2 separate regions of the Homo sapiens genome follow, and region 2 is linked to region 1. The links are contacts of gene promoters, found by promoter capture Hi-C in blood cells and fetal thymus (Javierre and others, 2016). All regions are on one chromosome and are shown on one strand. Each heading gives the region's core, a stretch centred on a gene start or on the middle of the fragment in contact. The rest is flanking DNA. Distances are from core to core; before and after follow the strand shown. Region 1 holds the start of LDHA (lactate dehydrogenase A). Region 2 has its middle 8.9 kb from the start of ZDHHC13.

Evidence for each region. Contacts are between HindIII fragments. The CHiCAGO score rates a contact against its expected background, and 5 or more counts as called.
Region 2: a fragment that was not itself captured here is called in contact with the fragment with the promoter of LDHA in region 1 in 1 of 17 cell types (neutrophils); the score reaches 5.7 in neutrophils.

Annotation. Positions count from the first base shown.
Region 1 is chr11:18,391,473-18,396,216 of GRCh38, forward strand. It overlaps LDHA (lactate dehydrogenase A), which reads left to right and starts at 3,091. Exons shown (of 8, transcript NM_005566.4): 1 at 3,091-3,164. RefSeq lists enhancers at 2,386-3,050, 2,697-2,786, 3,051-3,716, 3,097-3,186, 4,451-4,744 and a silencer at 3,947-3,996. The HindIII fragment of the contact is 13,104 bases long and covers 1-4,744 here.
Region 2 is chr11:19,105,917-19,110,673 of GRCh38, forward strand. No RefSeq gene overlaps it. Among named protein-coding and RNA genes, the nearest start is that of ZDHHC13, 8.9 kb to the right of the region's middle. The HindIII fragment of the contact is 5,919 bases long and covers 394-4,757 here.

The sequences.
Region 1 (4,744 bases), core at 1,841-4,340:
GTGCTGCAATAGTCATGGGAGTGCAGATATCTGTTTGATATACTGATTTCGTTTCTTTTGGATATATACTCAGATTGCTGGATCATATGGAAGTTGCAGTTTTAGTTTTTTGAGGGGTCTCCATACTGTTTTCCATAGTGACTGTGCTAGGGGTTTTCCCTTTTGAAGAGGCCACATCCAAAGAACACTTGGTCAGATTAAGAATTCTGTTCTGTCCCCTGAAAGTGTTTTCTGACCTGTTCCAAGGGTTCCACATTCTTCTCTGGCTTTAGTACAGAAGTTCTACTGTTTGGATTGTATTAGTCAGGGTTCTATATTAGTCAGGGTTCTCCAGAGAAACAGAACCAATGGAAGAATATATATAAAGAGATTTATGAGGAGGAATTTACTTATGTGTTTATGCAGGCAGAGAAGTCCCATGATCTTGCCATCTGCAAGCTGGAGACTCAGGAAAGCTGGTGGTATAAATTCCAGTTCGAGCCCAAAGGCCTGAGAATCAGGAGAGCCAAGGGTCTAAGTCCCAGTCTAAGGGCAGAATACCAAGGTCTCAGCAGATACACCCATTGGCACCCACAGCCTCTTCTGAGCCTGGGACTGGTTTGGGCCCCCTAGATAATTTCTTGCCCTTTGTATGGAGTGATGTGGGACAACATCCTATAATAGAGAGAAAATCATAGGCTTTGGGGTTAGTCAGCACTGGGTTAAAGTCTCAGCCAAAATCACTTACTAGCTGCACTACCTTAGCAAAGTCACTTACCTTTCTGAGCCTTGGTTTCCATATCTGAAAAATGGGGATAATTATGCCTACTCCAAAGGATGAGTATGGGGATTACCTAGCTGGCTGCCAGCACCATAGCAGGTGCTCAGTAAATGGTATTTGTTTTATTCATATTTGTGGAGTCAAATACTGGCTGTTGTTCTGCCTAAGAAGCCTGAAGCTGTGCTTGGAGCAAGCTGTTGCTAGGTATCATAAATTAGGGGAATGAAGACTCTACCTAGTTTATCTTCACAGGTCATCTCAGAGTGCCCCAACCCAAGCCTTTCAGGTGAAAATTCTTCGTCTCCCCAGCCAACTTCAGCTCTCTGCCTTCTGCACACCTCTTCCCAGCAGCAGTGGTCACATTTGGTAGGCAGGCAGGGGCCCAGCCCTGACTGAGAACACTGTTGCAAAGACTGAGAAACCGGAAAACACTGTGGCAATCTGCCCTGCCCTGAGGTACTCTGAAGAATCAGTGGCCCACCCCTAAACTTTCCAGCTGTGTGTTTGAGGTGAGAGCCCCATTTCAGAACCTAGAGTGATCTTAGAATCTAGAGTGATGGGAAAACTGTTAGAACATGCAAGCATGCCCTGCTATTTTTTTTTTTTTTTTGAGACAGGGTCTCACTATGCTGCCCAGGCTAGTCTCGAACTCCTGGCCTCAAGCAGTCCTCCCACCTCAACCACATTGGTGCTGGGATTACAGGCATGAGTCACTGCACCTGGCCCCTTGTGCTATTTTGGAGCTGAGGTTAGAGTTTTCCGTCAAAACCAAGAAACTCAGTTATGGATCTATCTCAAAGCTGCACTGGGCTGCTGCTGTAGGTTCAGGGAGTAAGTAAAGCCATCCACCCCTTTGGGCTGAAAGTTCCAGCCCTCTAATTCCCTAATCATTTGGTCTTTCCCATGACTGGCTCCTTCCTGAGGCTATCTAAGACTCCTCATTCATTAACATTAAGTCAGGGAAAAAGGCTCTTTATAAATAACAAAAGACATTCCTATCAGAAAATTCAGGAAATTTTGGCATACTCAAGGGCTTACCAAATATATTTCATAATATACCCCACAGTGGGGAAGTATTGGTACAAATTAAAGAAGAGATGGAGGAGGGCGGGCTAGGCAATGGAATCAGCAAGAATACAGGCCCAGAGGTAAGTATGATAAGAAAACAAAAAATTGAGCTGGGCACGGTGGCTCACGCCTGTAATCCCAGCTCTTTGTGAGGCCGAGGCGGCCAGATCACTTGAGGCCAGGAGTTTGAGATCAGCCTGACCAACATGGTGAAACCCCGTCTCTACTAAAAATTACAAAAATTAGCCGGGCGTGGTGGCGCCTGGCTGTAATCCCATCTTCTCAGGAGGCTGAGGCAGGAGATTCGCTTGAACCCGGGAGGCGGAGGTTGCAGTGAGCCGAGATCAGCCCACTGCACTCCAGCCTGGGCGACAGAGCGACTCCGTTTCAAAAAAAAAAAAATTAATAATTAAAAAAAAAATCGCAGGGCAAGTGGGCGCGCTTGTAGTCCCAGTCACTTCGGGGAGCCGAGGTGGGAGGATCGCTTGAGCCAGAAGGTCGAGGCTGCAGGAAGCCATGATCACGCCACTGCCCTCCAGCCTGGGTGACAGAGTGAGACCCTGTCTCGAAAAATACCAAAAAACAAATAAACAAACAAAAAACCAAAACCAAAAAAACAAGCCACTGACAGTTCTTGGGTATGGTTGAGACTCGAGATGAGATGCCAGTGGGGTGGGCAGTAGAAAGTGCAGAATAAAATGTACATTTGAACTGAGTCACCCTGCAAGGCCTGAGAGGCCAAGGCTTCACTGTGAGTGGGAGCTGGTAGGCTTAGCAGCAGAGGGAAAAGCAGCGTCGAGTTTTGGAGGTCACTCGACTTAGGTAAGAACAGACTGACTGACTGCTAGGCATTTTCTTCCTTTCGTTCAACAAATATTTGTGGAGTGCCTATTACGTGCCAGAAGCTGTTCTGGACACTGAGAAACAGGGATGAAGAAGAAACAGATCCAAGCCTTCCTGAGAGTAACCTCCCCAGGTTTCATGGATGAGGAAACTGAAGGTCGTCCTGACTCAGGCTCATGGCTCCGACCCCGGCTTCTGTGGTTGGAGGGCAGCACCTTACTTAGACTCCCAGCGCACGTGGAGCAGTCTGCCGGTCGGTTGTCTGGCTGCGCGCGCCACCCGGGCCTCTCCAGTGCCCCGCCTGGCTCGGCATCCACCCCCAGCCCGACTCACACGTGGGTTCCCGCACGTCCGCCGGCCCCCCCCGCTGACGTCAGCATAGCTGTTCCACTTAAGGCCCCTCCCGCGCCCAGCTCAGAGTGCTGCAGCCGCTGCCGCCGATTCCGGATCTCATTGCCACGCGCCCCCGACGACCGCCCGACGTGCATTCCCGGTACGGTAGGGCCCTGCGCGCACGGCGCCAGAGGGATGGGCGGGTAGAGCCAACTGCCTCTGGTTCTGCTGGCCTCCGCTGCTCGCGAAGGGATTCCTGCTCCCGGGAGGTGTAGGAGCCGCTTTCCAGAAGCACAGCCCAGAGACGTCTGGGCGGCGGCCCACACAACGCATGTGTTCGGAGCTCGCCGCGCTCTGCTTTTGCTCTAAGCGGGAACCATGGCTTCTGGCCACGCTGGGGAACCGAGGAGGTGGCCGCACCCAAGCAGGGGTCGAAAGCCCGGGTGGATGCGGAACAAGGATATGATAGGCCTTAAGGGTGGGGGATACCTCTGGGCTCGAAATCGGCGGGCGGTGCAAAACTCGAGGTCCAGTTCTCGGAGCCCATAGAGCCAAAAAAGCCTCAGCTTGTCCGGGGCGGGTTCTTGAAAGACGGAAAGCGGCTGAGTACCACGCGGCTTGCATTTTTCTCTTGGGACGCTCGAGAGGTGGGCTCCGTGAGGGCAGCTGCTGCCTGCAGATTATAGGGAGCCCTTTGCGCATTTATTAAGAAGCTACTGGTGTATCTCGGGCTGCGCTAGGCACGGCGCATGCAAAGATGAAGCAGGCAGCATCCCAGCCCTTCCGCACCTCAGACGGTCAGTTGAGTAGGATCCGCCGGTACCAACTCCTCCTTTTAACAAATAGGGAGACCGAAAGCTAGGAGACAGTCAGGGATCTCTAAGTTCCCAGTGAGTAGGAGGCAGAGGTGAGGTGTAGAACTCGTTTTTGCATGTCTCTCGCCTCTAGACGCACCCTTCCCTCATCCCATGCCCTCCCACCTCCGCCCCTACATTAAAGGTAGCATTGGATCCCGGGGCCGTTCAGTGAAGCTAGCAGGTGTCCGCAGGAACTCCCTTCCCCCTGCCAGGCTAGAAACCTTACAAGGCTGTCTAGAAATAGCAGTGATTTGTAAGGAGAGACCCGGCTCCAGCTTGGTGACTCTGGGCTGACTGCCTGCCTAGAGGTCCTCTCGGATTTTTGCCCTTTGGAGTGGTGTCAAAACTAGACGTGATACTTTGGGGATGCAGCCTGTGATATTTCCTCCAGCGAATGCAGTGCAGGGTTGGATTAACAAGGTGGAAAGAATTCGAGGGTTCCACCAAGTAGCTATTAACTCTAGGGCTGCAGGCCTCAGGCCTTCTGCAGCTATTTCTACACTCCCTGTACTGAAACTATTTCTTCATACTGGGCCTGACAGGCCTTTGCAACAAGGATCACGGCCGAAGCCACACCGTGCGCCTCCCTCCCGGTTGGTTAACAGGCCCTGGTTTCTAGTATTGCGATTTAAAGTCTGGCGCTGGCTGCGCGCCAGACCTGGGAGGCTGCCAGCTAGGCTTCACGTTGCTGGCGTCTGCTTCGGGGCATTCATTAGGTCTGAAGTCTGAATCCCAGCTCCCTCCCTCTCACCCACTGAGCTGCATAGCTCCAGATTGCCTCTGCTTACGGGCGGGGCTTCTCAGCCTTCTGCCTTCTGGCCCGATGCCCGCTTCCCAACGGCCGGAGGCCGCTAGACTAATCGGCTTCGCCCTGCGCGCTGTA
Region 2 (4,757 bases), core at 2,103-4,602, 710 kb after region 1:
GGCTTGGACACTGGAATTACATTCCCTGGATTCTCTTGCCAATCGGCTTTCAGATAGAAAGCCAGTGAGGCCTTCTATAAGCCTAATAAGGCACTGGTGGGAAATTGGAAGACAAGAGGAAGAGAGAAGAGGCTCTTTTCCTGCTTCAGACTTCTGTTAGCAACCTTCCAACAGGCACGGAGAACAACGGGTGTTTTGGGCACTTCTAGCACCCACTAATGGAGCTACTTCCTCAGAGCCTAAGCAGCTCTCCAATCAGCGTGCACAGTGCCCACCATGGTCTTGGCACCAGCCACCTGTGGTCAAAGCACCAGCCCAGGCCTCCCCATCTCCTGGGTTCTAGATCTGGTAACAACACCTCTACTCTTTTGTTCCCACAACCTTAGGAATGGAAGCTTCTTTTGGCAGTTACTAAGCTCTGAGTCCATTTAAAATCGCTCTTTGCTCTCTCAACCCTTCCAACACTGTGTAAGCACTTTCTTATGTTAAATTCCCGCATTTAAAATATCTAGAGAGATATGTGTTCTCATGACTGGACCCTGTGAACCCTGGCTGATATTTAGGCTCTCAATAAATACTTGTTGAATACGCAGAATTTAGCCCCAAGTTTATATTCTTAGAATTCATAGTTCAAAAGAAAGAAACTTGGCTTTTACAGCATCAATAGATCAAATTATATGAAAGTACTCTTATTGGCCCTGTTTTGGGCACATGCTCCCCCCCACCTCACCCCGACAATCCCCCTGGGCAAAATGATGGTGTACCTTGATTGGTCAGGCCTGGCTCAGGGACTCAGCCCTATGGCTCATAGCAGGCAGGATACTGAAATTGACAATCCCACCTAAACCACTTAGGGTAAGGGAGAGGCACTTCCCCAGTGGAAGATGGGCAGACAAAAAAGAAATTTTCCTACCACAATGAACTTATAGTCTTGGGGGATATGATTTAAAAATTGTCCTAATATAATGTGGTAAAGCACCAGGTGTTCTGGGAGCAGGGGGGAGCATTTATTCTACAAAGTCCTTTCATATACATGAAACAATTTGTTCCTCACAATGCCAACCACTATGAAGTTGGCATCCTCATCCTCACTATATAGAATCTTTGGCCTCCTATGATCTGTCTCTTCTCTTTTTGACTTCAAGTCCCTCTTTGTCAAGCTCCCTTAGCCAGGCCACCCCACCCTCAGCTTTCTTTTCATTCCCAGATATCTCAACCTCATTCCTTTTTTTAATGTAGAATTCTTCTGACTTGATGGCAAATAAGTTGTCCTTGGTCCCATAACAATATTGGCACCTATCACTATACAAAACACCCACCCTAAGGCAAACACCATACCATATGCTTTACACACATTCTCTCATTTAGTCTTCTTAACAGCCTTACAAAATAGTAGTAGAATTGCAGAAAGATTGTGTGACTTAGCCAAGGCTACTTGGCAAGAGCTGGGATATAAAGCTAGCTCTGTCTGGCTCCCACAACAGCAGCATCTCCTCCACTTGGTTTCCACACCAACTGAGGGATGGTTGAAAGAGCTGGGGATGTTTAATCAGGGGGACAACACACTTAGGGGTACCATTATCCATTCAAGTATCTAATGGGCGGTGAAGTAGAAGAGAGAATTCACTGGAATTTTTGTGGCGCCATAACCAAGGAAAAAGGACCGATTATAAACATAAAAGTGAGGGATAGTTGGCCGGGCGCGGTGCCTCACGCCTGTAATCCCAGCACTTTGGGAGGCCGAGGCAGGCGGATCACGAGATCAGGAGATCGAGACCATCCTGGCTAACACGGTGAAATGCCGTCTCTACTAAAAATACAAAAAAATTTAGCCGGGGGTGGTGGCGGGCGCCTGTAGTCCCAGCTACTTGGGAGGCTGAGGCAGGAGAATGGCGTGAACCCGGGAGGCGGAGCTTGCAGTGAGCTGAAATCGCACCACTGTACTCCAGCCTGGGAGACAGCGAGACTCCGTCTCAAAAAAAAAAAAAAAAAAAAAAGTGAGGGATACTTCTGTCCAATGTAACCAGTATGATAGAAGGTAGTGAGTATCCCACCACTGTGGGTATTCAAGGAGATAGTGCCAACAGCTTTTAAGGGATGTGGGAGAGTGAGAGAACTCTGACTCAGGGAGCATATTGGGTAGAGGATTTCTAAAGATCCTACAACTATGAAATTACTCCTTGTTTTCTGCTAACCCCATTTCCTCAAGTTAGAATCCTTGCAAGTCTGACTCAAGATTCTGGATCAATTCCAGAGGGTAAACTGTTTTGTTTTTAAGTTAAGCCCTGTCACAGTGGCTCACACCTGTAATCCCAGCACTTTGGGAGGCTGATGTGGGAGGATTGCTTGAGCCCAGGAGTTTGAGACCAGCCTGGGCAACAAAGTGAGATCCCGTCTCTACAAAAAGTTGAAAAATTAGCCAGACATGGTGCCTGTGATCCCAGTTACTCAGGAGGCTAAGGCTGGAGGATCACCTGAGCCCAGGAGGTCAAGGCTACAGCGAGCTGAGACCATGCCACTGCACTCCAGCCTGGGCAACAGAGTGAGACCCTGTCTCAAAGAAAAAAAAAAGTTAAGCCAAAAGACACGTTCGTTGGAAACAAAACAAAACACGTTGATAATATGAACATACCATAGGGACACGTTGTACATTTTTATGCGTCTTTAAGCATTTTAATCTGTCTCAGACTTTTCCAGAGTTTTTAGTTTCATGTTTATCATTTTAAAAATACTCCATTTTTATCCAATTAAGATGACTGTGCTTGTTTGAAAATAGTTTTACTGATTTTAATATTCCGCCTCAGACTCTAAGAGAATTACAACAGGAGCTGAGCTTGTGTTCGGCACGTGGGATCAAGCCCTAACAGCACCACTTTGTTTGCCGTATGTGGCCTTGCCCTGCATGCAGCTCTGAGGCTGAGCTCTTAACATGAAATGGGAAATAGAGCCCTTCCTCCTTCCTCCGAGGTTGTCCTGGGAGAGCTTGGCTGGTGGGAGTGCTGCATGAAAGAAAGGACCCGGCTGGGGCATGAGGTGAAGGGCTGACAAATGGGCGGAGTGCCCACACTCTGAGAGGCATCTTGGAGGCATTTCCTTCTGTCTCCCTTTACCTCGCCCATGGGTCTATCACCCCAGGCTTTGTGCTAAGGGGAAGATGTGGGACTGTTTCTCTCGTCCTGAGGCAGGAGTCCAACTGTCCAACAGGACAATCTGCTATAAGTGTCCATAGATGTTTGGAATTGGGATCAAACTAACTTGGCCTTGGAGCTGAGGACTCATTTCTTTCTCATCTGTGGCATACGTGGAGCTACTGTTTCCCAAGCTCCATTTTGCAGGTGAGGAAACCAAGACCCAGAGAGGTTCCCTGTCTTGCCAGAGGTCAGGCAGCTGGTCACGCTGTGTAAAGACTTGAAAGCTGGGCCTCCTGATGCCCAGCCCGGTGCTCCTTTCACTGCTTGCACAGTTCTTCCTCCATGTGCAACTTCCCGTCAGGCTGGTAGAGGAAGAAGCTGAGCCAAGGAAGGGTGGGATCTTGCCATAGGCCTTCTGTGGGTCTGTAATGTGGCCCAGCTGTGATCACAGCTGGAGGCCTGGCCTCTAGTGCCCTGGATCCAGGTCCCTAGTGACACTGTGTCTTGAACCTCCTTTCTAATTTGCCCCATCCTGGGGACATGCCAGCCTGAGAGCTCTTCCTGTTGGGGTCAGGTGTGGCCCCCACAGCCTTAAGACACTTGAGTTTCTGATACGGCTGGTGTCAGCGCCTGTGCCATGAGCACCACCGTTGCTCCTCCAGCTTCCCACAGAAAGGGTAACTGGTGGGCCATCTTTCTCCTGAACCAACTCTGAGTGGGGGCAGGACGTGTGAAATTTGAAAATGAGTCATATGACTAACTGAAATTAGGAGGCACCATGCCCCGATTAACCTCAAATTTAGTGCTTCCTTCCCCGTTCCTACCCAACCATGTCCTAATAATGAGTTTCCTGACAATTTTTATCCCTCACTCAACAAGTATTTATAAAATACCTACCTGTGTATGTTCTGTACTAGGCTCTGGGGATGCAACGATGACAGAAAGAACCCTTAACTCACAGACAAGCTGGAGGCAGAGGCAGAGGCAGAGGAGTAAACAGGCAGTTACAATATAGCAAGACAAGCACCATGCCAGAATGCTGAGGGGCTGTAGAGGATATCAGTCACCACAGTCCCGGGGATAATGGGACGTTTTGTACAAGGGGTAACATCCGATTCTTCTCCTCCTCCTCTTCCTGCAGAATTCCAATCTATCATTTTATTCAGTGTTCTGCCTCTCCTGCCATCATGCCTATTGCCCTTGCTTGCAACAATCCACATGTCCAGAAATCAGATACATTAGCAACTCAGTAGCCTTGGGAATGATCCCAGCGCCTTCAGCTTGGGAAATCCTGATTTTGCCATGTTTCACCATCTATGCAAAGCACAATGCAGAATTATTTTATATAGAAACTGAGATGAAAGGTAACCATTTGGCCTCAGATGGTGCCACCTTCTGTATCTTGAACAACTTGCAACACAGCTGGCCAGCTTGGCCCATTACCAGGGACACCACTCTATCACTATAATTAGAGCAGCAGTCAACAAGAGATTAAACCAGCGCTTGTTCTTCCATGAAAGCAGAGCTGAGGGGAATGCAGCTTTTCTCATGAGCACAAGTAATTTAGTGTGTAGGGCAGGCTGGTGATGGAAGGAGAACAATTACTTGTTTAATGTCACCTGTTGA